7 separate regions of the Homo sapiens genome follow, and regions 1, 2, 4, 5, 6 and 7 are each linked to region 3. Evidence: promoter capture Hi-C in human tissues and cell types (Jung and others, 2019). All regions are on one chromosome and are shown on one strand. Each heading gives the region's core, a stretch centred on a gene start or on the middle of the fragment in contact. The rest is flanking DNA. Distances are from core to core; before and after follow the strand shown. Region 1 has its middle 55 kb from the start of LINC01436. Region 2 has its middle 12 kb from the start of LINC01436. Region 3 holds the start of CLIC6 (chloride intracellular channel 6). Region 4 has its middle 81 kb from the start of LINC01436. Region 5 overlaps SETD4 (SET domain containing 4). Region 6 overlaps LOC101928269 (a long non-coding RNA gene). Region 7 overlaps LOC101928269 (a long non-coding RNA gene).

Region 1 (3,785 bases), core at 616-3,115, 1.3 Mb before region 3:
GATGACTCAGTTGGAGTTATGAGGTTCCCAGTTATTGGCTCTAGTGCTACAAACTGGCCCTTACCTCTGTCCTTTCACATCAGGTCCTTCTTCCCTATTTCAATGTCCGTGGGTCTGGAAATGAGTTCATATCTCGTCTGAGAATTTCTACAACTGCCGGAGGCTCACAGGTTTGTTGGAAACTCACAGATGAAAGCACCCGGAAGCTTTTATCTCTCTGCTGAAATGTCTTCCCTGAGGACACACACATAGTGTCATTGTGACCTTTAATCTTAATTCCTAATCATTTTTTTTTTTTTTGAGACAGGGTCTCGTTCTTTTGCCCAGGCTGGAGTGCAGTGGCATAATCTCGGCTCACTGCAACTTCTACCTCCTGGTTTCAAGGCCTCAGCTTCCCGAGTAGCTGGGATTACAGGCACCTGCCACCTCACCTGGCAGTTTTTGTGTTTTTAGCAGAGACGGGGTTTCATAGTGTTGGCCAGGCTAGTCTCGAGCTCTTGACCTCAAGTGATCCATCCATCTTGGCCTCCCAAAGTGCTGGGATTACAAGTGTGAACCACTGCGCCCGGCCAATCCTTTTCTTATCACAGAATAGTTTTGATCACTGGAAAACTGCCAGCTTCTCCAGGAAGCCAGATCTTTTGGAAATCATGTAAAAACACCAACAGCAATTACAAAACTAGCAACACAAAATGGGTTAAAAAGTCTTAATGTAGATCTATTCCTATTGGCTTTTTTGACAGTAGCTGAGAGAGGCTTAGAAACTATGATTTCAGGTTCAACGACACATGGCAGAGTGTATTTGGGGAGGAGAGGCTGCAGGTGAAATTCCAGGGCAGAGGGCCCTTACTTCTCAGGCAGCAGCTACCTGGCCATGGGTTGGTCACACTTGTGTTTGAACAGTGGGCATCGCTCAATCTGAGACAGTTCATGGGGAGTCAGGATGGTCTTTAAGGTTCTTCTTTATCTCTTCTTCTGCCTCTTGACTGGCTCCACTCTTCATCTTCCAAAAGGATAATCCAAGGGGTCACATCATTAGTGCACACTACTGTGCACCCCATTGGTCAGCACAGACATAGGGTGGAAGGATCGGGGGTGACTACTGGCTCATTGAGAAGCTCTAGTTCGCACTGATTCTCGGTCCTCACTTGGCCACGCATAGCAGAGGGTCTTTTGCAGATAGGCAGTGTCTCCAGGGCCCTCCCAGGATGGCTTACCTTGGAGAATTTGCCAGGCTTGGGTTTGGCCCTAGGCTGGCAGGCTCAGAGAAGATTGGCTGAACACATTAAGAGATGGTTTTGTTTCTCTCTCTAGCACAGACACACACCTCTCTCATGAGACTCAAGTGTAAAACCGGATCTCCAATCCATTGATTTTTTACAAGAAATGTAACTGCACAGAGCCTGGATTCTCAAAAATGCCAGGCAGGTCTGATTACCTGGGGAATGAAATCACAATCAGAAAGAAGTGTGATCAGCTTGGATTCAGAACTGGGGATATCAGTGGCAAAGGTTCAGTCAGAATAATGTATGCTTTCTGCAGTGGATTGAATGGTGAGCCACTCAAAAGGTGTGTCCACCTGAACCCTATAAATGTGACCCTATTTGGAAAAAGAGTCTTTGCAGATGTAATTATGTTAAGGATTTCAAGATGAAATCATCCTTGATTAGGTGTGCCCTAAATCCAGTGTCAATTTACAAATTCTATATCCTTACAAGAGAAGAAAAGAAGGCCATGTGAAGACAGATGCAGAGATTGGAGTTCTGAAGCTACAAGCCAAGGAGTGTCAAGGATTCCTGACAGCCCCCAGAAGCTAGAAAGAGGCATGGAATGCACTGTCCCTCAGAGCCTGTAGAAGTAGCCAACCCTGATGACACCTTGATATCAGATTTCTGGCTTCCAAAACTGTGAAACCATACAATTCTGTTGTTTTTAACCACTCAGTTTGTGCTAATTTGTTATGGCAGCTCTAGGAAATTAATACACTCTTTCATTTAGATAGAGCTGCCCCTGGGCCAGGCAGCTGGAGTCCTTGGGCCAGCCCCTTCCCTGCACAGTGCTTAGATGGGGCCTGCCAACATTTGCCCACAGGCTGGGCAGATTCCATGGCTGGCCACTCTAGTTTACAAGGAGCACATTTTGTCTTTCGACATGGTAATCCAACCCCATGGGTGGATTGCTGGACTGGGAGCTATTCTTTCTCTTAAACCTGCCATTTACATGTATCATCTGATGGTTTTGCAGCTTAGCTATCCAAGTGGCCACCTTATTCCCCAAACGTTCTTGGGGACAGTGATGAAAGTGGAAGATATACTTCTGCAGAAGTATATTTCACAAGGACTCAAAATACCTTGTTTGCATGTTTTACTTCTATGCACATTTTCCCATAAAGTCTTGCCAGCCCCGCTTGGTTCCAGGACTTGTCTATTCTCCTGGGGCTTTAGTAGTGAAATCAATGTGTGGTACAGAGTCCACCTCATCAGTAGTTACTGGGTACTGAATAAAAGAAAAAGCAGGGTAAGATTCTCTAAGATTGGGTATAACTTTCTCTCCAGGGCCAAACCCATCCCTCCGGTCTTCTTCAAAGAAGGTACTGATTTAAATTTCTTTCCTAATTAAACATTTTTCTAAGAAACATGTTTCATGGAAGATGGGATGCTTGTGCAGATAGGAGTTGCTCTTCTGGTGATGAGATGGGATGAGGATGGTGCGGGTTTGGGGAATGCATGTGCACAGGTGTGGGGCTGTCACATTGGCTGCAGGAGTGGGGACGGAGCCAGCAGGGATGACCAGAAAGGCCTGGAATATGCATGAGCAGTTCTGACTGTCCTTGGTAAGTGACATGGAACCATTGGAAAGGATTAGGCCAGGTAATATCATTATCAGATTTGATTTTTTTTAAATTAATCCATTTATTTATTTATTCATTCATTCATTCATTTATTCATTCATTTTAGAGATAGGGTCTTACTCTGTCACCCAGGCTGGAGTGAAGTGGTGCAATCATAGCTCATTATAACCTCAAACTCCTGGGCTCAAGTAATACTCTTGCCTCAGCCTCCCAAGTAGCTGGGACTACAGGCACCCACAACCATGCTCAGCTAATTTAAAATTTTTATTTATTTATATTTTTTGTAGAGACAGGGTCTTACTGTGTTGCCTGGGCTGGTCTTGAACTCCTGGCCTCAAGTGATCTCCTGACTTGGCCTCTGAAAGCATTGGGATTACTGGTATAAGCTACTGTGCCCTACTGGACTTGAATTTTTGAAGTCCATCTGAATTGGTTGGGGTGGGATAGGGTGGAGGAGGCAGGGAAAGCAGCAAGCAGACTATGGAAGTGAATAGGAAGTATCTATGTGGAATTTGGTCTTGAGTTGCAAAGCTTTAGCATAGTCCACATTTCAGTGCATGCCCCATTGCCTTTTCCATTCATCTTGCAAAGATGTCGTAAAACATCTTTCAAAGATGAGATAAAAGTAGAAAGGAACATGCAAAAGCAGTAAAAATAGTTAGTGTTATAGCAGCTCATTCAGTGACATTTCATTATCCTGGGCAAACCAGTACAACTGACCTTTTCACACAAGGCAGCTGGGAGTAGGAGCAGGAGGAATGGATAGGGATGGGAAAGGCAGTGTCCCATGGACTGTATCACTTGGGGCCTGACTTTGCAACCTTTATAGGAATCTGTGATCCAGATGCCTTGTTAAAGCCAAAATAAATTTTATACACCATTAAACCAATGTTGGTTACCAAGTATTTTTGGAAGGACGATTATGCTTCCATAA
Region 2 (3,742 bases), core at 1,040-3,539, 1.3 Mb before region 3:
AGGATCACTTGAGGCCAGGAGTTTGAGACCAGCCTGCTCAACACAGCAAGACCCCGTCTCCACAAAAAAAAAAAAAAAAAAAAAAAAAAAATTAGCTGGGTGTGCTGGCACATAGCTGTAGTCCCAACTATTCTGGAGGCTGAGGCAGGAGGATTGCTTGAGCCCAGGAGGTTGAGGCTACAGTGAGCTAGGATCGCATCACTGCACTCTAGTCTGGGCTACAGAGTGAGAACCTGTCTCAAAAATACAACAAATAAAATAAATAAGATAATTAAGCAAGCGAGTACCACAATAAACACATTTAAATAAACACATTTTTGTTAAAAATCACAGTAAATGGAATTCACACATTTTTGGCTATGTAAGAAGAGTTCCAGTAGAGTAGCCTTGATTCTCGTAAGGGCTGCTAGTGGCTTCCTCTGCTGATGAGGAACACAGGACAAATCCAGGACATCTGATTTTTCTTGTGGTACGTGCATGAAAGCTAATCTGAATGACAATACTGGAAAAAAGCAAAGAAGAGTTCATACAGCCTGATGGCAGGTTTCTCCTCTTTGCTTGGAGAGAGGCAGGGTGGCATATTCGTTCATCAGCAGTGCAGGGGTTACTCACGTGTGTTTAGCCTTGACATCTTTCATGTTAAAAATCTATCTCAGGGCCAGGCACGGTGGCTCACGCCTATAATCTCAGCACTTTGGGAGGCTGAGGGGGGTAGATAGCTTGAGGTCAGGACTTCAAGACCAGCCTGGCCACCATGGTGAAACCCCATCTCTACCAAAAATACAAAATAAAAATTAGCCAGGTGTGGTGGCGGGCATCTATAATCCCAGCTACTCAGAAGGCTGAGGCAGGAGAATCACTTGAACCTGGAAGGCGGAGGTTGCAGACAGCCGAGATCACATCACTCCACTCCAGCCTGGGCAACAGAGCGAGACTATGTCTCAAAAAAAAAAAAAAAAAGAATATATTTCAGAATGAAATGCAAAAGAAAACAACAGAAACTATAAAACCACACCTTGCAAGCAGCAGAACAATTTGTATTTCCCACGGCTGCTCACTGTGGATCAAGGGCTTCTGGGTTGTGAGGGGAAGCATAGGTGGTTCATTCATTCTCACCTAACTTCTTTTTTTTCACTACAGAAAGCACATCGGAAGTGACATTATTTTAGGGATAATGTTTAAGCCATTTTAGGCTTTTGAAGGCATAATTTAATTTTATGTCAGGGAGAAGGCTAAATTTGGATTAATAACAAATTACTTGTGCACATCTCATAGCTGCTTGGGATAATGTTACGGTTGGTCTCAATGTACAAGATTATTTCCCTGTTGGAAAATTAGGGGCTTCCCCAGCCTGAGCACAGCAGTGTTACATAGCAGTAGAAATGGGAGCCACAGCTGAACTTTCTGGAAAAAGAAATCTGAGAGCAGGACAACATCGAGAGGGCCTTTCATGGTCCCACATAGAGCGGGCATCAGGATTCTGCGGTTGTCCGGAGCTGTGCAGGTAGAAATGGTGGTACCCAGGGCCATGCAAGTTTTTCTTGGCCAGACTGATCCTTCGAGGGAAGCTTTTTGGAGTGGTCCATTGAGAAATGGAGAGTGTGCTAGAATTAGACTATGAAGCCCTCATGGAAGCAATCAGCTCCACCAGCATCAAACCTCGGAGTTGTCATGGGGACACATAGAATGGTATCCTCAGACAGGGAGGGGCCCAGGACCTGTCACCAAGCCCAGGAACACCAGCTCTGGGCTCCACTTCCTGAAGCCCTGCTTGGCCTCCCATTCAAAATCACAAGGAATATCAAAACATGCCTCCCCAAATCTTACCACGCAAAATCTCACTCTGAAAGGGGAAGAAGAGAGGAAGTTAAGGACTGAGGAGGAGAAGCGAAGCGTTTCTTTTGTTTTTTTGAGGGTGTTTTTGGTTTGTTTTTTGTTTTTTTGAGATGGAGTCTTGCTCCGTCACCTAGGCTGGAGTGCAGTGGTGGTATCTTGGCTCACTGCAACCTCTGCCTCCCAGGTTCAAGCAATTCTCCTGTCTCAGTCTCCCGAGTAGCTGGGACTACAGGCGTGCACCACCACGCCCAGCTAATTTTTGTATTTTTAGTAGAGATGGGGTTTCACCATGTTGGTCAGGCTGGTCTCGAACTCCTGACCTCAGGTTATCCACCCGCCTCAGCCTCCCAAAGTGCTGGGATTACAGGTGTGAACCACCATGCTCGGTGGAAAAAGAGGGATTTTAGAATCATTTCACTATTTCCACTGAAAACTTGCTCCACTCCTCCACAATCATTCATTTTCATGGGGGTAGAGGATAGCGGTGGGGAGGCTTGGAGTGATGTATATTTGTCTCCATATCGTAATATTTCCTTCCCATTAAAATGTGGTACCTCCAAATTTGTGATATAGCATCGCAATGTAATCTGGCAATGTACAAAAAGAAAAGGAAATAAATGTTGGTCTGAAGTAGGGTAAATATGACATACAATCAGTGATGTCAGCAGCTATCAAAATTGTAAAACATAATCATGGCTCTTGATTCTAGCATAGTGAAGAGCTGGGTTGATGAACTGTGACCCATGGGCCAAATCCAACCTGATGCCTGTTTTTTGTTTTTGTTTTTGTTTTTGAGATGGAGTCTCGTTCTGTCACCCAGGCTGGGTGCAGTGGTGCGATCTTGGCTCACTGCATGCAACCTCCGCCTCCTGGGTTCAAAGTGATTCTCCTGCCTCAGCCTCCTGAGTAGCTGGGACTACAGGTGCGTGCCACCACACCCGCCTAATTTTTGTATTTTTTGTAGAGACAGGGTTTCACCATGTTGGCCAGGCTGGTTTTGAACTCCTGAGCTCAAGTGATCTTCCCACCTCGCCCTCCCAAAGTGCTGGGATTACAGGCACGAGCCACCGTGCCCGGCCCCTGATTCCTGTTTTTATTAATAAAGTTTCATGGAAACACAGCCACACCCTTCATTTACATATTGCCTATAGCTGCTTCGTTCTTACAAAGGCAGAGTTGAGTAGTTGCAACAGAGACTATGTATGGCCTGCAAAGCTGAAAATATTTACTATGAAGAAATAGAAAAACTTTACCAATCTCAATTTAAAAATTAAGATGGGCTTTTCACAAGATGGCACCGAAAGCAAAGAAGGAAGCTCCTGCCCTCCTAAAGCCGAAGCCAAAGCGAAGGCTTTAAAGGCCAAGAAGGCAGTGTTGAAAGGTGTCCACAGCCACAAAAAAAATGATCCACACGTCACCCACCTTCCAGTGGCCCAAGACACTGCGACTCTGGAGGCAGCCCAAATATCCTTGGAAGAGTGCCCCCAGAAGAAACAAGCTTGACCACTATGCTATCATCAAGTTTCCGCTGACCACTGAGTCGGCCATGAAGAAGATAGGAGACAGCAACACACTTGTGTTCATAGTGGATGTTAAAGCCAACAAGCACCAGATCAAACAGGCTGTGAAGAAGCTCTATGATATTGACATGGCCAAGGTCAACACCCTGATTCGGCCTGATGGAGAGAAGAAGGCATATGTTCCACTGGCTCCTGATTATGATGCTTTGGATGTTGCCAACAAAATTGGGATCATCTAAACTGAGTCCAGCTGGCTAATTCTAAATATATGTATATCTTTTCACATAAAAAAATTAAGATGGAAACCAAAGCAAAGATGAACTATGGAGATAGTCTAAGCAGTGATCTTCTACTATAACATTGGATTGCGTTTGTGTCTGCCTTCC
Region 3 (3,720 bases), core at 1,056-3,555:
ACATTGACCAGCTCTGGGTCTCCGAGATTGAGTCTGGAAGGCACCTCCCACATTGAACCTACCTGTCTGCGTTTTTTGGCTTCAAGTATTAAAGCTTCCTTTGGCAGAAATCCCTTTGAACACCAATAGGGTGCGTTGCTTTTCTTCTTCTTCTTCTTTTTTTTTTTTTTTTTTTTTAACTTTTTAGTTAATTCGTTAATAACCTCCTGACTAGGAGGGCTGGTTAGGATGTTCAGGTCAAAGGACAGTGGGATGCTGAACCCACAACCCCACATCCTCATTGGCCCCCATCGCACTCCCCGTCGCCCCCACCCCCAAAGTCTTTGCTTCCAAACCATTGAGTCCTCCCGCAAATGCCCTGGAAACTCTTCTCCGGGAAATCCCGGCTGTCCCGCCTACCGCCCGCGCATGGAAGCGCCTGATGACAATCAGGATACCACCAAGGGTTCCTCCCTGCGCGTCCCTCTGGGATCTGAGATGACCAAGACCTCGAATGGAAGGGGGTCGTCCTAAGAATTGAGGGAAGCGAGCTTTACCTTGACGAAGAGGGTGATGTCGTGCTCCTGCCCCAGGGCCCGGGGCTCGGACGCCTCTCCGTCCTCCCGGCGGCCGTTCACGCGCGCGGCCTCGCCGCTACCCTCGGCGGGGCCCTCCTCGGCCAGGTGGTTGCTGAGCTGGGCCTCAGGCTCCGCGGCGCCCCTGGAGGCCTCCCCATGTGGGCTGCTGTCGGGGGATTCCTCTTCGCCCCCCGCTGCTTCCTCCTCCCTTGGCCCCTCCGGGCTCCGCTCTCGTCTCTCTTCGTCCTCCCCCGGCTCCTGCTGTGGCCCATCCCCTACCCTGTCCTCGCCAGCGTCTGCCCTTGCGTCCCCGGGGGCCGCTTCTTCGGACCCCTTTACCCCCGGGACCTCCGCCTCCTCCGCTGCGTCCCAGGCGAGCTCACCGGGGCTGCGCCCCGCACTCTCCCCGGCTGCGACCTCAATTGCCTCGGCCTGGGGCGAGAGGCTGCCGTCCCCCGATTGCTGCGGCTCACCCGAGACCCGGCGCGCCCTTCCTGCCGGACCCTCGGCGTCCATGCTGTCCCCCGCCGGGCCTTCGGCTTCTACGCTGTCCCCCGCCGGGACCCCCGCTTCTACGCCGTCCCCCGCCGGGTCCCCCGCCTCTACGCTGTCCCCCACCCGGCCCTCCGCGTCTACGCTGTCCCCCGCCGGACCTTCCGCGTCTACGCTGTCCCCCACCCGGCCCTCCGCGTCTACGCTGTCCCCCGCCGGGCCCTCGGCTTGTATGTTGTCCCCCAGCGGGCCCTCCGCGTCTACGCTGTCCCCCGCCGGACCTTCCGCGTCTACGCTGTCCCCCACCCGGCCCTCCGCCTCTACGCTGTCGCCCGCCGGGCCCTCCGCTTCTATGTTGTCCCCCAGCGGGCCCTCCGCGTCTACGCTGTCCCCCGCCTCCCCGGACGCGCTACCTTCCGGGACCTCAGGCCTCTGCTCCGCCTCCTCCTGCCTCTCGGGGGCCGCAGAGTCCTCGGGCTCCCTCTGAGCCTCCCCGCGGGGCTCGCCCTGCGCGCCGCGTCCCGGGCTCGCCCCCTCCACCTGCTGCGCGCCGCTTGTCTCCTCCCCTCCTTGGGGCACCTCGGCACCCTCCGGGGCTCCCTCCTCGGCCTCAGTCTCGCCGTGCGCCCCCCTCGTGCCCCGCGCCTCGGCCTCCGGGCCCCTGTCTGGCCCGCCGCCTCCTGCCTCCTTCACAGCGGCGGCGCCCCTCGGCGCCTCCTCTGCGCCCTCGCTCCCCTCCGGCCCTTCTGCCTCCCCGCCCGCGGCTCCTGGCTCTCCGGGTCTCTCAGCCAGAGGCGCGGGGACCTCCGGCGGCCCCTGGGGACCCGGGGCAACCCCCTCCGGCTCCGCGGCCTCGGCCATGGCCGCAGATCCCTGTCCTTGATCGGGACTCCTTCCTTGACGCTGCTTAAGGGTCGGTGGCGCTGGGCAAGGGGCGTGCTACGGGGCCCTCTGTGCTCCTTGAAGGACGCCGGCTCCGGGATCCTGCGGCAAAGGTTTAGCCGGGGCACTGGGGCCTTGCGCAGGACCCGCAGGGCAAACTCCGCTTGGCCCCAAGCCTCTGCGCCCCTTCTGCCCAGCTGAAACTCCCTGGACTCTTCCTCCACTGCTGGAGCTTCTCCCCGATTGCGCGTCTGCTTCCCACCGGGACCCCAATCTCGCCCGCGGGCCGCGGAGGTGCAGTGCACGGCTGGAGAGGGCTGCTTCGCTCCTGCGCCTTTGGAAGTGCCCGGCCCGCTGTCCGCTGTCCTGGGGTTGACCAGAAGTCCTTGGTGCCAACTCCATCCCCTGGGGCTTGGGCGGGGTTTGTCTTCCCCTCCTCCCTCCTTTGTTTGGGTAGCCTAGGAGCTTGGCCAATGACAGCCTTTCTCGTGACCCTTGTGGATGTTGATGAAAAGATTCTGGTTCTCCTGGCCGCTTGGGTGTTGTTCTCTAGAATGGCTTCAAGTTCCAGAGTCACTTAAATCACCCCCTCCAAACACACACCCCGACACCCAAACACCTAATCCCCACCTTACCCCAGGAGTGAAGCATCAAGCTCCCCCGGTACCCAACTGAAGATGTCCACATTGTGCCTGATGTCCAAGAGCAAGGGTGTAAATCCCTGAGAGAAGAAGCTGGGGAGGCTACGCTGGCCGCCTTCCCATGTCTGCAGGGCCCCCGGAGAGGTTCCAGAGGCCCCTCATATAGACGCACAAGGAGCCAGTCGAGTTTCTCTGACCAGAGATGGGCGCTGTTGTCCATGAGGGTCCGCTTCTCCGGGCCTGTCTGGAGGATCGTGGGAGCCCTGCGCTGGAAAAAGGTTACACCTTCATCTCCCGGGTCTCTTAAGACTGTAAGAGTCTGTGTATCTTGCTGATTCTCCTAGATTTCTAAACTCACCACCAGTGCTTCTGCCTCCAAGTTAAGAGCTTGGGAATCTGGAGGTGGAGAAAAGAAAATCCAAGATGTGAAAGAGGGGAGCTATGGAATTCCCTGGGTTAGGGTTCTCCCAGGATCACAGACCCAATACCTACTTTAAAAAGGAAGTTATTATGGTGAAAAGTATGTCGTAAGTTTATTATAAGCCAGGCTACTTCTAGTGGGTTACCAAGAAACTGGGTTACCCAAGGTGGCACTATGTAAATGTGGTGGAACGGGGATCCCAGCTCAAGACTGACTTGATTCATCAGGCTTTATATGGCTTTGATATTGGCCTAAGATACATGAGCCCCTCATGCCCACAGAAGGTTGTTTTCGTTGAAAGAGCTGGGTGTGCCTTTGATGTGGCTTGGGGTCACACCTTTGGCCATGAACATAATGTGTCTCCTTCTACTTCCCATTGCTCATCACTGATGGATGACAGGACAGGAGCCCAGAGACACTCAGCTTCATGCTACCTTTCTCCAAGGCTGTGCTCTGTCTGGGTAGGTACAGGCCAGAAGCTTCATCACCACAAAGTGGCATCTAGTCAAAGCATGACACTCACACAGGTGAGCCAGAGATGCACGTGAGCCGTAAAAGCTCTAGGCACCTAGAAAAGGAATCCTGCTGCATTCACCGGGGCAAGGTAGCAGCCATCACCCTTATCTTGTAAAGAAAGATGAAGCCAGCACGTTCAGCCCGGAACAGCAAACACAGTACAGGTTTACAGTGCTTTATGCAAATCCCATGAGCCCGGATGTGTTTCAGA
Region 4 (3,968 bases), core at 404-2,903, 1.3 Mb before region 3:
AGTTGTGTGCTTGCCTTCAGATTTCCCTGGAAGCATCCACTGTCAGCCTCGAGGGAATTAATAGACCTACACCCTTGGGATAGATCAATGTGCCCTGAAAAATGTGTCTGGTTTGTTGTAATGCCACACTGGAAATAACAGAAAGGCTGTTTATATAGACAGTGGTCCAAGGAAGAAAGTGGGTCTGGATGAATGGCATCTGCTTATGTCCTGGTCTTGGTTACAAGACAGGCATCTCATCATTCCAGCCATTCTGCCTGCAGTCAGGATCTGTGGAGGACCCAGTGCCTTCAGAAAAGGTTAACAGAAGCTGCAAGAGGGCTCATCCATGAGTCTTCTCCGTTAAGCACATAATTCAGCTCATTAGACTTCAGGTTTCAGAATCGTGGTCTTTTTGTGATCTAAATAAGTTATGGTCTCTCTAATTGGACAGGATGTAGGGTGTTTTTGACAGCCACTGTTATTTTGCTCTTAAATACATACCAACAGGCTATTAATAAATAAATAAATTTAATATTAATTAATAATTAAAAATCATTAATAATTAATAAATAAATTATTTATTAATAATTAATAAATTATTAATAATTAATAAACAAATCACTTATTAATAAATTATTTATTATAATTAATAAACAAGTTATTTATTAATAGATTATTTATTATAATTAATAAATAGATTATTTATTATAATTAATAAATAGATTATTTATTATAATTAATAAATAGATTATTTATTATAATTAATAAATAGATTATTTATTAATAATAAATAATCTATTTATTATATATAAGAATGAATTAACAAAAATTCTCTGTGGCCATTGGTTTCCTGGTAGAACTCCCTCTTTTTCTTGTATCTACAGGAAATGTCTTTCTAGCTTGTGTGTATGTCTGCCAGGCTTGCCAGTTCGAAGTCGGCCATGGGAGGGGTTGTGTTCAGAAGCACACACCATGTGACCTGTCAGGCAGATCAAAGCAGGGATTTCAGGGCTGACTACAAGGGGAAATGGTTAGTAATTAATAAAAGGATGTGGAATTGGTCATGTTGACTGAAAGAGCCCAGAACCTTGGCGAAAGGCTCCCGGAGGCTGCCAAGATAATAAGAGTGGCTGAGCTGAGTTATGTATGGGTGAAGCTCACGGGTGTTAATGCCACTGGGTGAGGGGAGTGGTGAGGGGTGGAATGAGAGGTTTACAAGCTTGACGGATCTCACCCAGGCCCAGGCCTCACTGATTGTAAGAGTCTCTTCAGCTCTGGCCAGAGTTTTGGTTTGTTTTTAAATGGAGCTTTTAGGAGCCATTAAGGACATACAAAAGCTTGATAATGGTGTTTAACTCTGAGAGTCAAGCTGTGGTTTCTCATTGGCCATTTCTGGCTTTTCATGGCTTTATGTAAATATATTTCATTTCCAGATTTAGGATCAAAGAAACCTTTCTCTTGCACTTGCTCATTTTCTTCCCATGTGTGGTCTAATGCATCGATGAAACCAAATAAATCCGCAAGGGATGTGGGAGTCTGCTGGTGTCTCACCATGGCTGTGGCCACTGTACACCTTCTGGTGGTTTGGTGGTGAGGAGTAGCCTGTGGGAAGGGGAGGTGGCATTGATGACGATGTTGGGAAAGAGGGTATGAGAGGTGAGTCACATCTCAGCAAGGGGCTGGTGAGTATGTCTTGGCCTGTCTCAGCTAACAAAGTTGACAGCAGCAAGAGGTGGAAGGTCTGGATGCAGCTGTGTGTGCCTGTATGTGCGTATTCTTGGGAGTTGGCAGACAAATCATGGAACCTCCAAAGAAATTTTCCATTCATTTGTTAGGAGATTTCAGAGCTTATAAACTGCCTCATGGGTTTTGAAGCCATTTCCCCAAGAGGATGATGACGTTTGATCTCTTGTGCAATAGTCATAAATATCTCAGGACGTGATGTCCCTGTAAGGAGTAGATTCTGTTGGTTCCAACCAAGTGTCAGTGCAGTTTCTTAACTTCTCTCTTGTCCTTTGCCCCCCTTCCTTTCTCTTCCACCCTCTACCAACCTCCTGTAAGGTTAGTGCCAGGGACAACATGGCACCAAGTTGGGGAAGCATAGAGAGCCAAGTAGGCAGCCTTGATGGACTTTGCTGGCTCATCTTCAGTGGGTTACAGTGGAGTTTCTGACCTCAGGGCATATTTCAATCTCATGGGTAACATATATTTTGCACATTTAGAATAATTTGATATAAATATGACAGATGTTACGATAATAAGCAATATGAGCACTTGCTAATTATTCTTTGTCTTCATCTGTAATTTCAAAATGCAAAAGGGGTTGCAAGACTGATGTGGAGAGTGATAAATGGCCAACAAATGCTTGCTGGGTGCCATAAAGTTCTCTTTATGAAGAGAACTCCACACGCCTGTTATATCATTTGTCACATCATGCCACATAGTAGCACCCCAAAACTCAGTGACTGCAAAGGAGAACTCATTGTGGCTGCACACCCGTGGTGGGTGTGGCTGGGTGGTCCTGCTCCAGGCATCGCTCATTCTCTGCCTGGGGTTGGAGGTTAACCACGGGGTTAGCAGTGGCATGCTCTTCTGGTGGAGAGGTTTGGGAGGCAAATGGGAAAACAAAAGGCTGCTTCAGGTCTGGGCTGCCCTGGCAAACTCTCCTTCTGCCCACATGCCATCAGCTGAAGCAAGTCACATGGCCAAGCTGAAAGTCAAGGGGAAATAAAATGCATTCTTTGCACGATGAGGCTGGGCAAGGGTATAGACACAGAGAGAGGCTGAGATGGGGGCCAATCCTTCGGACCACAGTCTCTCTCTCCTTGCTCATTTTGGCAGATACATCACCTTACCGTTGTCAGGGATGGCTTCTATGAGGAGATGACATTTAAATTGAATTCTGGTGGGTCGTGGTGGCTCACGCCTGTAATACCAGCACTTTGGGAGGTCAGGGTGGGTGGATCACTTGAGGTCAGGAGTTTGAGACCAGCCTGGCCAATATGGTGAAACCCTGTCTCTACTAAAAATACAAAAATTAGCTGGGTGTGGTGGTGTGAGCCTGTAGTCCCAGTTCCTTGGGAGGCTGAGGCAGGAGAATGGCTTGAACCCAGGAAGCAGAGGTTGCAGTGAGCCGAAATTGTGCCACTGCACTCCAGCCTGGGTGACAGAGTAAGACTCTTCTCAAAAAGAAAAAAAATAAATAAGTTGAGTTCTGCATGACAGGAAAGAATCAGTCACTCAAAACCTGTGGAAAGAGATTTCTAGGTAAGGAGAACAGCAGGTATAAACATCCTAAGGGAGGAGCAACCTCTCCAGAAATCTCCAGCTTCCAAAGGTGGCCTTCCACGATGCTCCTACCTGCACTTTTCCTGTGTTTTGAAGGGAAACATTCTCCCTCAAATTTTTAAGAGCCTGTGAGTGCAGTAGCAAGGCCAGCTTCCAACAGGATTGGTTACTTATCTATTTATTAATAGACCTTATTTTTTAGACCAGTTTAAGTACACAGCAAAACCGAGAGGAAGGTGCAGAGATTTCCCACACACCTCAGGCCCCACACATGCATGGCTTCCCCAACTAGAAACATCCCTCATCAGAGTGGTGCATTTATTCCAATTGATGAACCTGCATTGCTACATGTCCATCACCCAGAGCCCGTGGTTTACTCTAAGTTTCACCCTCCACATTGTACATTCTGTGGGTTTGGACAAACATATAAAGACACAGATCCACCATTACAGTCTCATGCAGCATAGTTTCGCTGCCCCAAATATCCACCAATTAATTTTAAGTGCAACAAAACCTCACAAACATCATGGACATAGCAAAAGAAGGACAAAGGAAAGCAGCCAGTGCAGCGTCTCCACTTTTTCTTTCTTTAAGATCATAAAGGTCTTTGACGCATGGAAGGCAGGCTTTTATTAACTAGGCACTTGTATCATAAACATGATTTCCAGACTAGCAGGAAAGTCCCAGAATTCTGAGTC
Region 5 (3,950 bases), core at 1,191-3,690, 1.4 Mb before region 3:
TTTTTGGAGGAAGGTGTAATTGACTTTATTCTGTAGCAGAATTTGGGGATGAGAAATGTCATGTATGCAGCAGTAACTACAGGTAGTTTTTGTTTAGGTCATGAAATAATTGGCAGTTGTTTCACATGTACATTCAAATATGGTTGTTTTATCAAAAGTTTTTGAAAATTGAGACATATTTTACATATAGTGAAATGCACAGTGAAGTGTACAGTTTGCATTTTGATGATAAAGAGATTTACCCAAATATTTTCAAACCAAAAGATCATAGGATGTTGGAATGGGAAGTGACCATAGTGATCATCCAGCTTAATCTTGCTTTACAGATGAGGAAACCAGAAATTGATCCCGGAAGATTTTTTGGCTGAGATTTTTTTTTTCTTTTTTGAGACGGAGTCACGTTCTGTCGCCCAGGCTAGAGTACAGTGGCGCAATCTCGGCTCACTGCCACCTCTGCCTCTCGAGTTCAAGTGATTCTCCTGCCTCAGCCTCCCGAGTAGCTGGGATGACAGGTGTGCACCACCATGGCCAGCTAATTTTTGTATTTTTAGTAGAGATGTGGTTTCATCATGTTGGTCAGGCTGGTCTTGAACTCCTGACCTCAAGCGATCCACCTGCCTCAGCCTCCCAAAGTGCTGGGATGACAGGCATGAGCCACCGCGCCTGGCCTTGGCTGAGATTTTTAACCAACTTAGATGCCAGTTAGAATTAAAGGAGAGTCTTACATCTGGCTTCTTCATGCAGTGTTTATTTAAACTGTTTTCTATTACTTTACATCTAATTTTTCTTTCCATGGTTCTATCTCCGTGGGAGACACTGAAAACGATACTCTTGCAAGTGGTAGAGTTCGACGCTTACTGTGTTGGGCATGCTGGCCTTTCTTTAGCTCATAAGCGTGGGTTATGTAGAGAGCAGACCATCACCTGGCCACTTGGATTTCACTGGATACAATTTTTTGGGGGTAGTTTCTGTCTGTTTACTATTGGTAGCACTATTTCCTGGCATAAGAAAGTGAAGAAATAGGTGAAACCCTGTCTCTACTAAAAATACAAAAATTAGGCACCATCATGGTGATGGGTGCCTGTAATCCCAGCTGCTTGGGAGGCTGAGGCAGGAGAATCGCTTGAACCTGGGAGGTGGAGGTTGCAGTGAGCTGAGATCACGCCATTGCACTCTAGCCTGGGAGACAAGAGCAAAACTCCATCTCAAAAAAAAAAAAAAAAAGTGAAGAAACAGTATAATTTGAATTGTCAGCATGTTTCCACCACTCATTCTGGTGAAGGGTTGACTGCTTGTGGGTGTCAGTCACATAATTGACCTTTCATTTTTGTTGGGGCTGTGGGGCCTCGCCTTGGAGCAGCCTCGTGTGCATCTGCTGACTCGCAGAGTTGGGAGCGACTCCATTGGTAGGCTCATTGGTGGCTTTTGGTTGAGTTACAGTGGGTTACTGGTAGGTGATTGTGGGATCAACGACTTTGTAAGACTCATACTCATGGGTCCTTCCCAAAGCATAGGCGTCCTCAACTTTACTTTCCTTTTGGCCAGGAGGGACAGATGATTATTTCGTTGCCTGAGAGTTGCCTGCTCACCACGGACACAGTGATTCGAAGCTACTTAGGGGCATACATTACTAAGTAAGTGACCACACACTTGCTTACCTGGTGCAAGTGCTTCTCCTTAAGGTCTGTCAATGGCAAATATGTCACTTGAGACACAATTCATTAGAACCCAGTCCCTTGTAGAGCTGATAAATAACCTGAATGATGTGAAAAGTTTACTCCATTCTAGAAAGTTTGCCCTCCCTCCCTGCCTTCCTGCCTGCCTGCCTGCCTGCCTTCCTCCCTCCCTCCCTCCCTCCTTCCCTCCTTCCCTCCCTCCCTCCCTCTCTTCCTTCCTTCCTTCCTTGTCTCTCTCTCTCTCTTTCTCTCTCTCTTGCTTGAGATGGAGTCTCACCTGTTGCCAGGCTGGAGTGCAATGTCGTGATCTTGGCTTATTGCAACCACTGCCTCCCAGGTTCAAGTGATTCTCGTGCCTCAGCCTCCCAAGTAGCTGGGATTACAGGTGCCTGCCACCACGCCCAGCTAATTTTTTTTTTTTTTTTTTTTTTGTATTTTTAGTAGAGACAGGGTTTCACCATTTTGGCCAGGCTCGTCTTGAGCTCCTGACCTTGTGATCCACTCGCCTCAGCCTCCCAAAGTGCTGGGATTACAGGTGTGAGCCACCGTGCCCGGCCAGAAAGTTTGTTCTTAATTCACTGTAAATGGCATTTCTAAGGTTTTTAATAGGCTTCCTGGAGTGTGGGTATGATATCCCGATCCATCACTGACTAAGAAATAAAAATTAAATGGGATAATATATGTAAATCACAGCTGAGTGCCTTGGCTCATAGTAGCCTCTTCTCTTCCATCATAGTAGCTCTTGACAAATGTAAGTTACTCTCTCTTATTTCTACCGTTATTGTACTTCAGTTTTCCTTGAACTTTGAAGAGCTGTTAATTTTGTGAAAGAATTAGTTTTATTTAGGTATAGAAGAGAGGAGGCTGATGGGGAAGAACTGTTTTCTGGCACACGTTCTGCTGGGCCTTTGTTTTGGGGCATCTTTGAGGACAGAGTGAGAGCGACCCGCAGTGGAAGGGATTTCTAAATACAAGGGTTGAAAGAGTATACCGTTTTTTTCTTTCTTTTTTGAGACAAGGTCTTGCTGTGTTGCCTAGGCTGAAGTGCAGTGGCGTGATCTTGGCTCCCTGCAACCTCCACCTTCCGGGTTCAAGCAGTTCTCATGCCTCAGCCTCCCAAATAGCTGGGATTACAGGTGTGCGCCACCATGCCCTGCTAATTTTGTATTTTTAGTAGAGATGGGGTTTCTCCATGTTGGTCAGGCTGGTCTCAAACTCCTGGCCTCAAGTGATCCACCCACTTTGGCTTCCCAAAGTGCTGGGATATAGGCAAACGGCCACTGTGCCTGGCGTATACTGTCTCTTAACCATTAGGTAAGTGCTGGTCTTTTTTCCCCCTGGCATGTTTTTGGAAGAGAGTGAATAGGTCTTTTAGGCCTGTGTAGAGACAATGATGCTGTCATTGTTAACATTTTCTGAATCATTCTGAAATTTTGAGTAGAATGTATGGCAGTATAGGAATCTGGATGTCGAAGGATTGATGAAAACTTTCTAAATACATTCAGGCAACATGAGATCTTTTTATCGGCAATTGTGCAAGTAAAAATACTGTGATACATAATTTGTAATAGAGCAGGTAAACTTAGGAATAAAAGCTTTAGAACTGCAACAACTGTATATGAGCATATTCAGTTTTGGTTTAGGTTGGTGCCCTCCAATAGAGCTTTTAGCAATGACAGATGTTTTTTATGCATTGTCCAGTATGGTGGCCACTAGCTCTGAATGGCTATTGTGCAATTAAAACATAGCTTATCTTACCAAGGGATTGAATTTTAAATATTCAATTCTAAATAATTAAAGGTTAAATTTAAATAGCTCTGTGTACCCAGTGATTACTATATCGGATGGTGCAGGTCTCAGTTCTTTCCACCATTTTTTCCCCACCATATTTTATATCTTTACATAGGTGAGACAAATGGACTTAGGTCAAAAGGTTTACAACTGGAGAACCAAGTTGGAAGCAAAGAGGTTTTTTTGCAAAGAGGAATCTCTTGCAAACAAACCTGGAACTTGGCTTAGTGAGTCAGTTTTTCTGACATGTAAGTATGGCTCTTTCAGAGCACTAGCACTGGGGCTGTGCTCCCCTGGAGAGGAAGAGCCTTAAGGAAGGAAGGAAGGAACTCTTGAGTCTGTTAAGTAAACTGAGTGTGTTGACAGTTTGAACACACTCCTTCTGGCAGCAAAACAAACTGCTTGGCTTATTTCGTATTTTGAATCAAAGTAATTCCTTTAAACTGGCTTTTAATTTTCAAAGGTGGAAGCCTCCTCCATCTC
Region 6 (4,145 bases), core at 945-3,444, 1.3 Mb before region 3:
AGTAGGCAACAAGCATTAACATGAATACATTCTAGCCTTTTAGTCTGAGAACCAGAAACCATTCTGTATATTTCCAGCAGGAAGGGTTTACTTCAGGAAATTAGGTGCCTAGAAAATGGTTGCAAGGCCATCCTGGCCAACGTGGTGAACCCCGTCTCTACTCAAAATACAAAAATTAGCCAAGCATGGGGGCGGGTGCCTGAGTCAGGAGAATCGTTTGAACTCGGGTGGCGGAGGTTGCAGTGAGCAGAGATTGTGCTACTGTACTCCAGCCTGGGCGACAGTGAGATTCTGTCTCAAAAAAAAAAAAAAAGAAAGAAAAAATGGTTGCAAAGGATGGTCAGGGAGCAAAAGCCAAGGGAGGTGGTGCTCCTCAGAAGTCAGGAGGTATCAGGAAGCCACTGTTGCTACTGCAGAAGCCCGGTTGTCTGCCGCTGTCGCTGCCCCAGGAAGAGTGAAATCTGTCTTTGTCCCACCATGTGCTTCTCACTGATGATCTCAGAACAGAGACCCTAAGGGCTGTTCCCAGGCTGCCCCATCCTGTGATACATCAGCTGAGAGCAAAGAAGGGGCAAGGATGATGTTGAGGGTCAAAAGACAAGAGTGACATAATGTGGTATGAAAAAGCAACTCCCAGATTGCATGCAGCATATTACCATTTTTTAAAGTACAAAAAATAACATATTGTTTGGGCATTTATGTCACGGTGCATTGGGGCTGGGCTGAACTGGCATGCAAGAGCCAACCGTTAACTTTTCAGGAATTTTGCAAGCCAGTTGTTAAACACAGCCATGATTCAAAATTAATTACACTTATTGTTAAATAAATTATATTGAATTTGATGATAACATTCTAAGCTCATCATTTCTTAATCATTTTACTGCCTTTTATTATTAGCTGTGCTTTTAAGGTTATTTATAGCTATTGCATCTGTTTATTTTTATTTTTTTGAGACGGAGTTTCACTCTTGTTGCCCAGGCTGGAGTGCAATGGCACCATCTCGGCTCACTGCAACCTCCACCTCGTGGATTCAAGCGATTCTCCTGCCTTAGCCTCCCAAGTAGCTGGGATTACAGGTGTTTACTACCACACCTGGCTAATTTTTGTATTTTTAGTAGAGGTGGGATTTCACCATGTTGGCCAGACTGGTCTTGAACTCCTAACCTCAAGTGATCTGCCCGCCTCAGTCTCCCAAAGTGCTAGGATTACAGGCGTGCGCCACCGAACCTGGCCAGCTATTGCATCTGTGTGGTGAAAATACAATACTCTGGTGTGCTACTGTACATCTCTTTGCAACTCTGTGTTCAGTGACATCACCTTGGTAGCCTGGAATATGCCACAATGGGAGTATTTACACCAAAAAAATTGACAAATTCTGCCAATCAGAGCTTGCTTGTTTTGTTGATTATCTAGACACAAGGAAGTGTGGGGAAATGTTAATCATGCAGATTCGACTTAAAAGTTTGTCATGTCTTCAGCTGCTGCATTGTAAATGGCACAAAAATTGAGGAAACAGTCTTCTAGTATTTGACAACTACTACCTGATTTAACAAAGAGTCGCCCTTATGAATGATGAAAATGTTTTCCACCATATGTCTTTGTCATTTATTTTGCTTTCTTCTTACTTGTTAATGTAAAACAAAAATATTAACCAGCATTCATATTGGAGCTACACTTGTTCATCAGTTGCAGCCATATGTTGGCTGCAATTACAATGGTTTGGCAAAAATCAACAAAACCATTCTGTAAGAATCAATTGACTTTACCGATTTACATAAAAGGCAATCTTATTATTTGTAAATTGTGTGCTATACATCCTTCATGTCAAAAAATTTATAAGACACAGCATGATAACTATAGTTAATGTATTTGTCTTGGTCTGTTTGGGTTGCTATAACAAAATATCATAAACTGAGTGGCTTACAAACAACAGAAATTTATTGCTTACAGTTCTGGAGGCTGAGGAAGTCCAAGATCAAGGTGCTAGAAGATTCAGTGTCTAATGAGGGTTTGCTCTCTGCTTCATAGATGATGCCTTCTAGCTGGGTCCTCACAGGGCAGAAGGGAAGAACAAGCTTCCTCAGTTCTCTTTTATAAGGGCACTAATCTCATCTGCGAGGGCTCCACCCCAGTGATCTCCTCACCTCCTAAAGGTCCCTTAAGACTATTGCATTGGGGATTAGGCTTCAACATGTGCATTTTGGAGGGACACACACATTCAGATCATAACAGTATCATATACTTAAAATTGCTAAGAGAGTAGATCTTAAGTATTCTTACCACAAACATAAGCTAAGTATGTGAGGTGAGGTGATGGATATGTTAGCTTGATTTAATCTTTTACAATGTGTACACAGACCAAAACATCACATTATACACTATAAATATGTATACTTTTGATTTGTCAATTATACCTTAATGAAGCTGGGAAAAAATTTTAAAAATTTGTAGTAAACTTGTACAGGAATAGACACACATACCCACACGCATACATTCAATTTTTTGGAGATATGGTTGCTAAACATTTATCATCACATCACTGCATATATATATCATGAACGAAGAGGTGATAACATTTCATATAGCGGTTGCCTATGTGGGGCAGTTGTGGGTGGAAATCCACCAATACCCGCCTCTATTGTGTCTTCCCTGGTTTGCCATTTACCTAGGCATCCAAGTTCAAAGTCGGGGAGCCATGGAGGAATCCTCCCTCCCACTTCACAGCCCATCGCCCGCTATGGTTGAGTTTTCTTTTTCATTTTATTTGGAAAACAGCTTTATTGAAGTGTAATCGATACATTTGAAAAACTGGGCAGGCCACAGGGGCTCATACCTGTAATCCCAGCACTTTGGAGGCTGAGGCAGGAGGATTGCTTGAGCCCAGGAGTTTGAGACCAGCCTGGGAAACAAAGTGAGACTGTCTCTACAAAAAAATAAAAAATATTAGACTGGTGTGGTGGCACGTGCCTGTGGTCCCAGCTACATGAGAGGCTGACATGGGAGGATTGCTTGAGCCCAGGAGTTTGAAGCTGCGGTGAGCTGTGATTGCACCACTGTACTCCATCCAGCCTGGGCAACAGAACAAGACCCTGTGTCAAAACAAAACCAAAACCAAAACTGCACATGTTCGATGTATACGATTTGGTGAATTTGACATAGGCTTATACCCAGGATACTATCCCAACAATCAAGGTAATGAACATATCCTCTCCAAAAGTTTCCTTGTGTTCTTAATTTTATCATATGTTTATTTTTTTGTGGTAAAAATGTTTAACATGAGATCTGCCCTCTTAACACATTCTTACGTGTACGATACTGTGTAAACTATAGGCATGACATTGTGCAACAGATCTCTAGAACTCATTCATCTTGTGTATTGGTTCATTTTCATGCTGCTGATAAAGACATACCCAAGACTGGGTAATTTACAAAAGAAAGAGGTTTAATGAACTCACAGTTCCACGTGGCTAGGGAGACCTCAAGATCATGGCGGAAGGCAAAAGGCACTTCTTACATGGTGGCGGCAAGAGAGAGAATGAGAGCCAAGCGAAAGGAGTTTCCCCTTATCAAACCATCAGATCTCGTGAAACTTATTTACTACCATGAGAACAGTATGGGAGAAACTGCCCCTGTGATTCAATTATCTCCATCAGGTCCCTCCCACAACATGTGGGAATTATGGGAGTACAGTTCGATGAGATTTGGGTGGAGACACAGCCAAACCATATCATCTTGCATAACTGAAACTTTATACCCACTGAAAAGCTCCCCTTTTCCCCCCTCCACAGCCCCTGACATGCACCATTCTATTCTCTGCTTCTTGAGATTTATTGTTGCGTTTTCTTCCTGAGCCTTTCATTGTATTTATGTTTCCACTTGACAGTTTCCAACTTGGAGTCCAGTTGGAAAAATGGTTTTTCCCAGCGAGTCCTCTCCTGTAACTTTCAGAGCACAGACTGCTATGGAGAATGTGGTTGCTAGAGAACATGGAGGGTAGAGAGACACAGAGAGCTCTCCTAGTGTCACCCAGCTTCCTCAGCAAAGTGTGCTGTGGGCATTTATTAATCTCTGGGGAAGCAAACCTCTGCCAAAAAAGCCTCAATGAAGAACACATGTAAGGGGACCTTGAGCAGTTCAAAAGGAGA
Region 7 (3,813 bases), core at 751-3,250, 1.3 Mb before region 3:
GCCACTTACTGATGCAGGAGGCATCTCCCCCCTCTCCCCTTCCTTTTACCAGTTGCCCAGCTCTTCCAGAATATTCTCTTCTTGGGATAAAGACTACATTCATCGTCAAAGGCAGATAAGTAGATTTAGTGGTCGCCTTTGACACATCTCTTTTTCTTCTTTTCCAGTTCTCACAGTCTTAGAATGCAACACCTTTCTCCTTTTTTTCTTTAATCATAGCCTCTTATCATGAATTCCTCCGTGGTCTCTCCCCAGGGTTTCTGAAGGATGACCTCAGAATCAGCTGATGCTTGTTGCAGTGGCACTTCTTGGGCCTCACCCCAGACCCAAAGAATTGGAATCTCTGGGGATGAGGACCTAGATGGTGCAGTTTTAACAAGCACACAGAGATGCTTATGGCATGAACATGTGGGAAGCCCTACCTCACACCTTCCTGGCTTTCCAATTCCTACCATTCCAGTTAAACTCAAAGTAGTTATTGAATTCTTACATGCGAACTTCTGATATGGATATTACTGCATTTTCAAAAATATTCACACAAGCTCCAAAGTCCTCGTGATTGACTTTCAGACTCTGCAGGATGCGGGGGTAGTATAGTGGGGAGGGGGCAGAGAGACATAAAAGGGGGTGGGAGGGGCTTGGAGGTCAGTCTAACCTAGGTTACATTTCCAATCCAGCTGCATAACTAGCTGAATGACCTTGGGTGAGTGATTTCATTTTGTGAAACTCAGATTTCTCTAAGTGGGGGTGATAATCAATCATGCAGAATTGTTTCAGGGCTGTTTAGGAGGATTAAATGAAAGAATGCATGTAGAGTTAGGAGGTGCTACTACGTGACAATTTTTTTTTTTGGGATGGAGTCTCGCTCTGTTGCTCAGGCTGGAGTGCCGTGGCGTGGTCTTGGCTCACTGCAACCTCTGCCTCCCGGGTTCAAGTGAGTCTCCTGCTTCAGTCTCCTGAGTAGGGATTACAGGCACCTGCCTGCTAATCCTGCTGATTTTTTGTCTTTTTAATAGAGATGGAATTTCACCAAGTTGGCCAGGTTTGATCTCGAAATCCTGACCTCAGGTGATCCACCGGCCTCGGCCTTCCACAGTGGTGGGATTACAGGCGTGAGCCAGCGCGCCCAGCCTATGTGACAACTTTTATTGCTCTTTAGTTTATTTCTTTTGTCTTTTTCATTCCTATACTTCTATTTCTTGGTTGTCTTAGTTCCTTGTCTTTTTTCCATATTATCCTCTTGGAGAACTTTAAGGTCTTATCTTAGCATCTTCTTTTTCAGAAACTCCTCTCTAAAGTGATTTCAGCTTATTCATACCTTTTATTCTTGACCTTGTTAGGTTAACTGTGTAGAAATCCCTCAGGTGGGGAGTACCCAGTAGGTATCTGCTGTTTTGGTGTGTTTAGCACTTCTTCCTCCAGTAACAGTACCTCTCTTCACCTTTGAGGTCCTGCTGGTCCTCCCCTAACATGTGTGGTTGTGGGGGGCTGAACGGGCACCTGACGCAGGGTGTGCTGCTTATGGTGCCACATCCTTCCCACCATGGTGATTGGTCCTGGAGTTGTCAGGTAATGCAAACGGGGCCAATCAGCGTCGTTCCCCGTAGTTTTCTACATTGGACTTGTTGGTAGAACTTACTTTTGTTTCTGGAGCTCCAAGTCCCCTTAAAGCTCTAAGACTTCTTTGGTCTGCTGATACTTGCTTGGGGCGGTGGGGTGGGGGCAGCAGTGAAAGTGGGGATGGAAGGCAGCCTCTGTTGCCTCCTGGACTTTAGGTGTGCTGGGGCTTACCCCTCTCTTGCCGCTAGGGAAACACCTTCCAATCTCTGCTTTTCTGGAGGCGCTCCCTCTTCAGAGATGCTGGGTGCTGGCTCCCAAGAATTTACAGCTCTCTTAATTGTTTGTATTGTACATCCTTTTTCTTCCCCAAATCATGTACACACTGTCAATGTGGTTGAGCCTGCGGGCAGCATCCAGGCAGAGTCGTACCTAGAATTACCATTTCCCTCTATCCCACAGGTCCTGTTGGTGAATCTGACACATCAGGTTCAACCTTTATCCAGCACAGTAGACTCTGTCCCAGGGACTGTCACAGTCTCCTCTATTCCCACCTTCTGTGGGCTTCCCCTACTTGGCACTGTTCTACCTGCTCCTGGGCTCAACAGAGATTCCAGTAATTTGGGGGGAGGTTTCTGGACCCCATGATAATTAGTGGATGCCATGCATGTGGGTGGGTCTTTCACCTCCACAAGCTTCATCTACAGCCTAGACAAGATTCCTGCTGCACATATCATTAGAACTGTGCAAAAGTGTGTACACAACATTCAAGTATGGGAATAGTTAATAATTGAGGGATCATTAGTGGGTGCAAATTCAACAATTTCAATTCTATTGAATTGGTGAAAGTTTCAATGGGATGTGGTAGAAATAGGAGGAGGCAGGAATCAAGGTCCACATATAATTCTTTTGTCTCTGCCAATGAGTAGCTATGACTTTAGACAAGTCAGGAAGTTCCTTCTTTCCACAATTTTGTCAATGGCAAAATGGCAACTGTAAATTATGAATGATTCCATGACAATGATTTTAAGTGGAAATTTAGTGGCCCATGGCTGGATTTTGAACCATCTACTCAGGTCTCACAGTGCTGAGGGCGTGCTCCTTGGTACTCAGGATTTCTGAGACCTCAGTACCTGTTGCTGACACGTTTGCATTAAGACGGTTCCCCCCTCCTTCCATGGTTGTTTGGATCACTGGGGCAAGCCGGGTAAATCAGCTTTCCTGGGCACTTAGAATTGGGTCTCAGAAATCCTGAGTACCAAGGAGCACACAAAAATCCAGAAGTCATGGAGTGGCCATAGGTATTCCTTAGAGCTATAAGATGGTCTTTTTCTACCCTATGAAGTGAAGTAAACAATGAAGTTCTGGAGAAAGTAGTTGTACAAAGAGATGTGGAGCTAAGAGGCAGAGAGCTCGTGGATTTCCCAGTCCCCCAGTTGCTCATGAAGTCTCCTTATCCTCGGGTTCCATGAAGCACCCCCGCATCCTTCTCACAAATTTCATTTTCTGATCAAGGTAGCCCAAGTTGGTTTTCATTACTTGCTTTGCCTTGACTAAGATAATCTCTACTGTTCCATAATAACATCCAAATTTGGGGTGGTCCTTAGCAAATGCTTATGCTAAGAAAATTCCTAAAATAAGAAAAATCATTCAATCTATGTTGAACATTTATGGAAAGAATAAGGATCATAAATAAATATATCCTAAAAGTGCTTGAAGTGGGAAGTAGGATGTTTTCCTATTCCTTTCCAGCAAGATCTAAAATCATCCCACCAGAAATCAGGAGAACAGATTCCCAGAATAAACAGGAGGCCATCAACCAATCTTTTGCAAAAAGGGTTGCTCTCAGTTTATTTAAAAATTTATAATAATTACAAAAATAATAAGACATGGCTCATGTACTGCTACTATCTTTTAATGGAACAACATTGGTTATTTAGTCCTAGAGTCTCATAACAAGTCAACTGAATGTTTATTGTGTTTGAATGAGGCTCCAGGAAGCTGCAAGAGAGGTATACAGTGGATGCTTAGGTTTTGGACCTCTTTTTTTTTTTAAAGACCATTTTTTTCTACTCCCTTTCCCTTTTTTAGTAGTTAGTCTTATATACTGGAAAATATAACTTTCTATGATGATACAAATGTTTTATATCTGTGCTGCCCAATATGGTAGTCACTAACCACATGTGGCTTTTGAGCACTTGATATATGTGGTTAGCATGACTGCAGAGCTGAATTTTAAATGTTATTTCAGTTTAA

What was found. The method cuts DNA at HindIII sites, captures the fragments that hold promoters and counts their contacts. A contact is called where the count stands out against the background at its distance.
Region 1: a fragment that was not itself captured here is called in contact with the fragment with the promoter of CLIC6 in region 3 in 1 of the 25 tissues and cell types used here (dorsolateral prefrontal cortex).
Region 2: a fragment that was not itself captured here is called in contact with the fragment with the promoter of CLIC6 in region 3 in 2 of the 25 tissues and cell types used here (dorsolateral prefrontal cortex and lymphoblastoid cells).
Region 4: a contact is called between a fragment that was not itself captured here and the fragment with the promoter of CLIC6 in region 3, in 1 of the 25 tissues and cell types used here (dorsolateral prefrontal cortex).
Region 5: a contact is called between a fragment that was not itself captured here and the fragment with the promoter of CLIC6 in region 3, in 1 of the 25 tissues and cell types used here (dorsolateral prefrontal cortex).
Region 6: a fragment that was not itself captured here is called in contact with the fragment with the promoter of CLIC6 in region 3 in 1 of the 25 tissues and cell types used here (dorsolateral prefrontal cortex).
Region 7: a fragment that was not itself captured here is called in contact with the fragment with the promoter of CLIC6 in region 3 in 1 of the 25 tissues and cell types used here (spleen).

Annotation. Positions count from the first base shown.
Region 1 is chr21:35,948,826-35,952,610 of GRCh38, reverse strand. No RefSeq gene overlaps it. Among named protein-coding and RNA genes, the nearest start is that of LINC01436, 55 kb to the left of the region's middle. The HindIII fragment of the contact is 4,357 bases long and covers 1-3,785 here.
Region 2 is chr21:36,015,932-36,019,673 of GRCh38, reverse strand. It overlaps the pseudogene RPL23AP3. Among named protein-coding and RNA genes, the nearest start is that of LINC01436, 12 kb to the right of the region's middle. The HindIII fragment of the contact is 6,263 bases long and covers 1-3,742 here.
Region 3 is chr21:34,667,579-34,671,298 of GRCh38, reverse strand. CLIC6 (chloride intracellular channel 6) reads right to left here and starts at 2,305. Exons shown (of 6, transcript NM_053277.3): 1 at 537-2,305. The coding sequence starts at 1,910. RefSeq lists silencers at 593-672, 1,573-2,012. The HindIII fragment of the contact is 4,429 bases long and covers 1-3,666 here.
Region 4 is chr21:35,922,799-35,926,766 of GRCh38, reverse strand. No RefSeq gene overlaps it. Among named protein-coding and RNA genes, the nearest start is that of LINC01436, 81 kb to the left of the region's middle. The HindIII fragment of the contact is 4,384 bases long and covers 1-3,845 here.
Region 5 is chr21:36,045,992-36,049,941 of GRCh38, reverse strand. SETD4 (SET domain containing 4) reads left to right here. Exons shown (of 12, transcript NM_017438.5): 5 at 1,546-1,634; 6 at 3,931-3,950. Among named protein-coding and RNA genes, the nearest start is that of SETD4, 13 kb to the left of the region's middle. The HindIII fragment of the contact is 5,011 bases long and covers 1-3,950 here.
Region 6 is chr21:35,977,424-35,981,568 of GRCh38, reverse strand. The region is part of intron 4 of LOC101928269 (a long non-coding RNA gene); the gene reads left to right. Among named protein-coding and RNA genes, the nearest start is that of LINC01436, 26 kb to the left of the region's middle. The HindIII fragment of the contact is 4,270 bases long and covers 60-4,145 here.
Region 7 is chr21:35,996,337-36,000,149 of GRCh38, reverse strand. All of the region lies in intron 1 of LOC101928269 (a long non-coding RNA gene), which reads left to right. Among named protein-coding and RNA genes, the nearest start is that of LINC01436, 7.1 kb to the left of the region's middle. The HindIII fragment of the contact is 5,560 bases long and covers 1-3,813 here.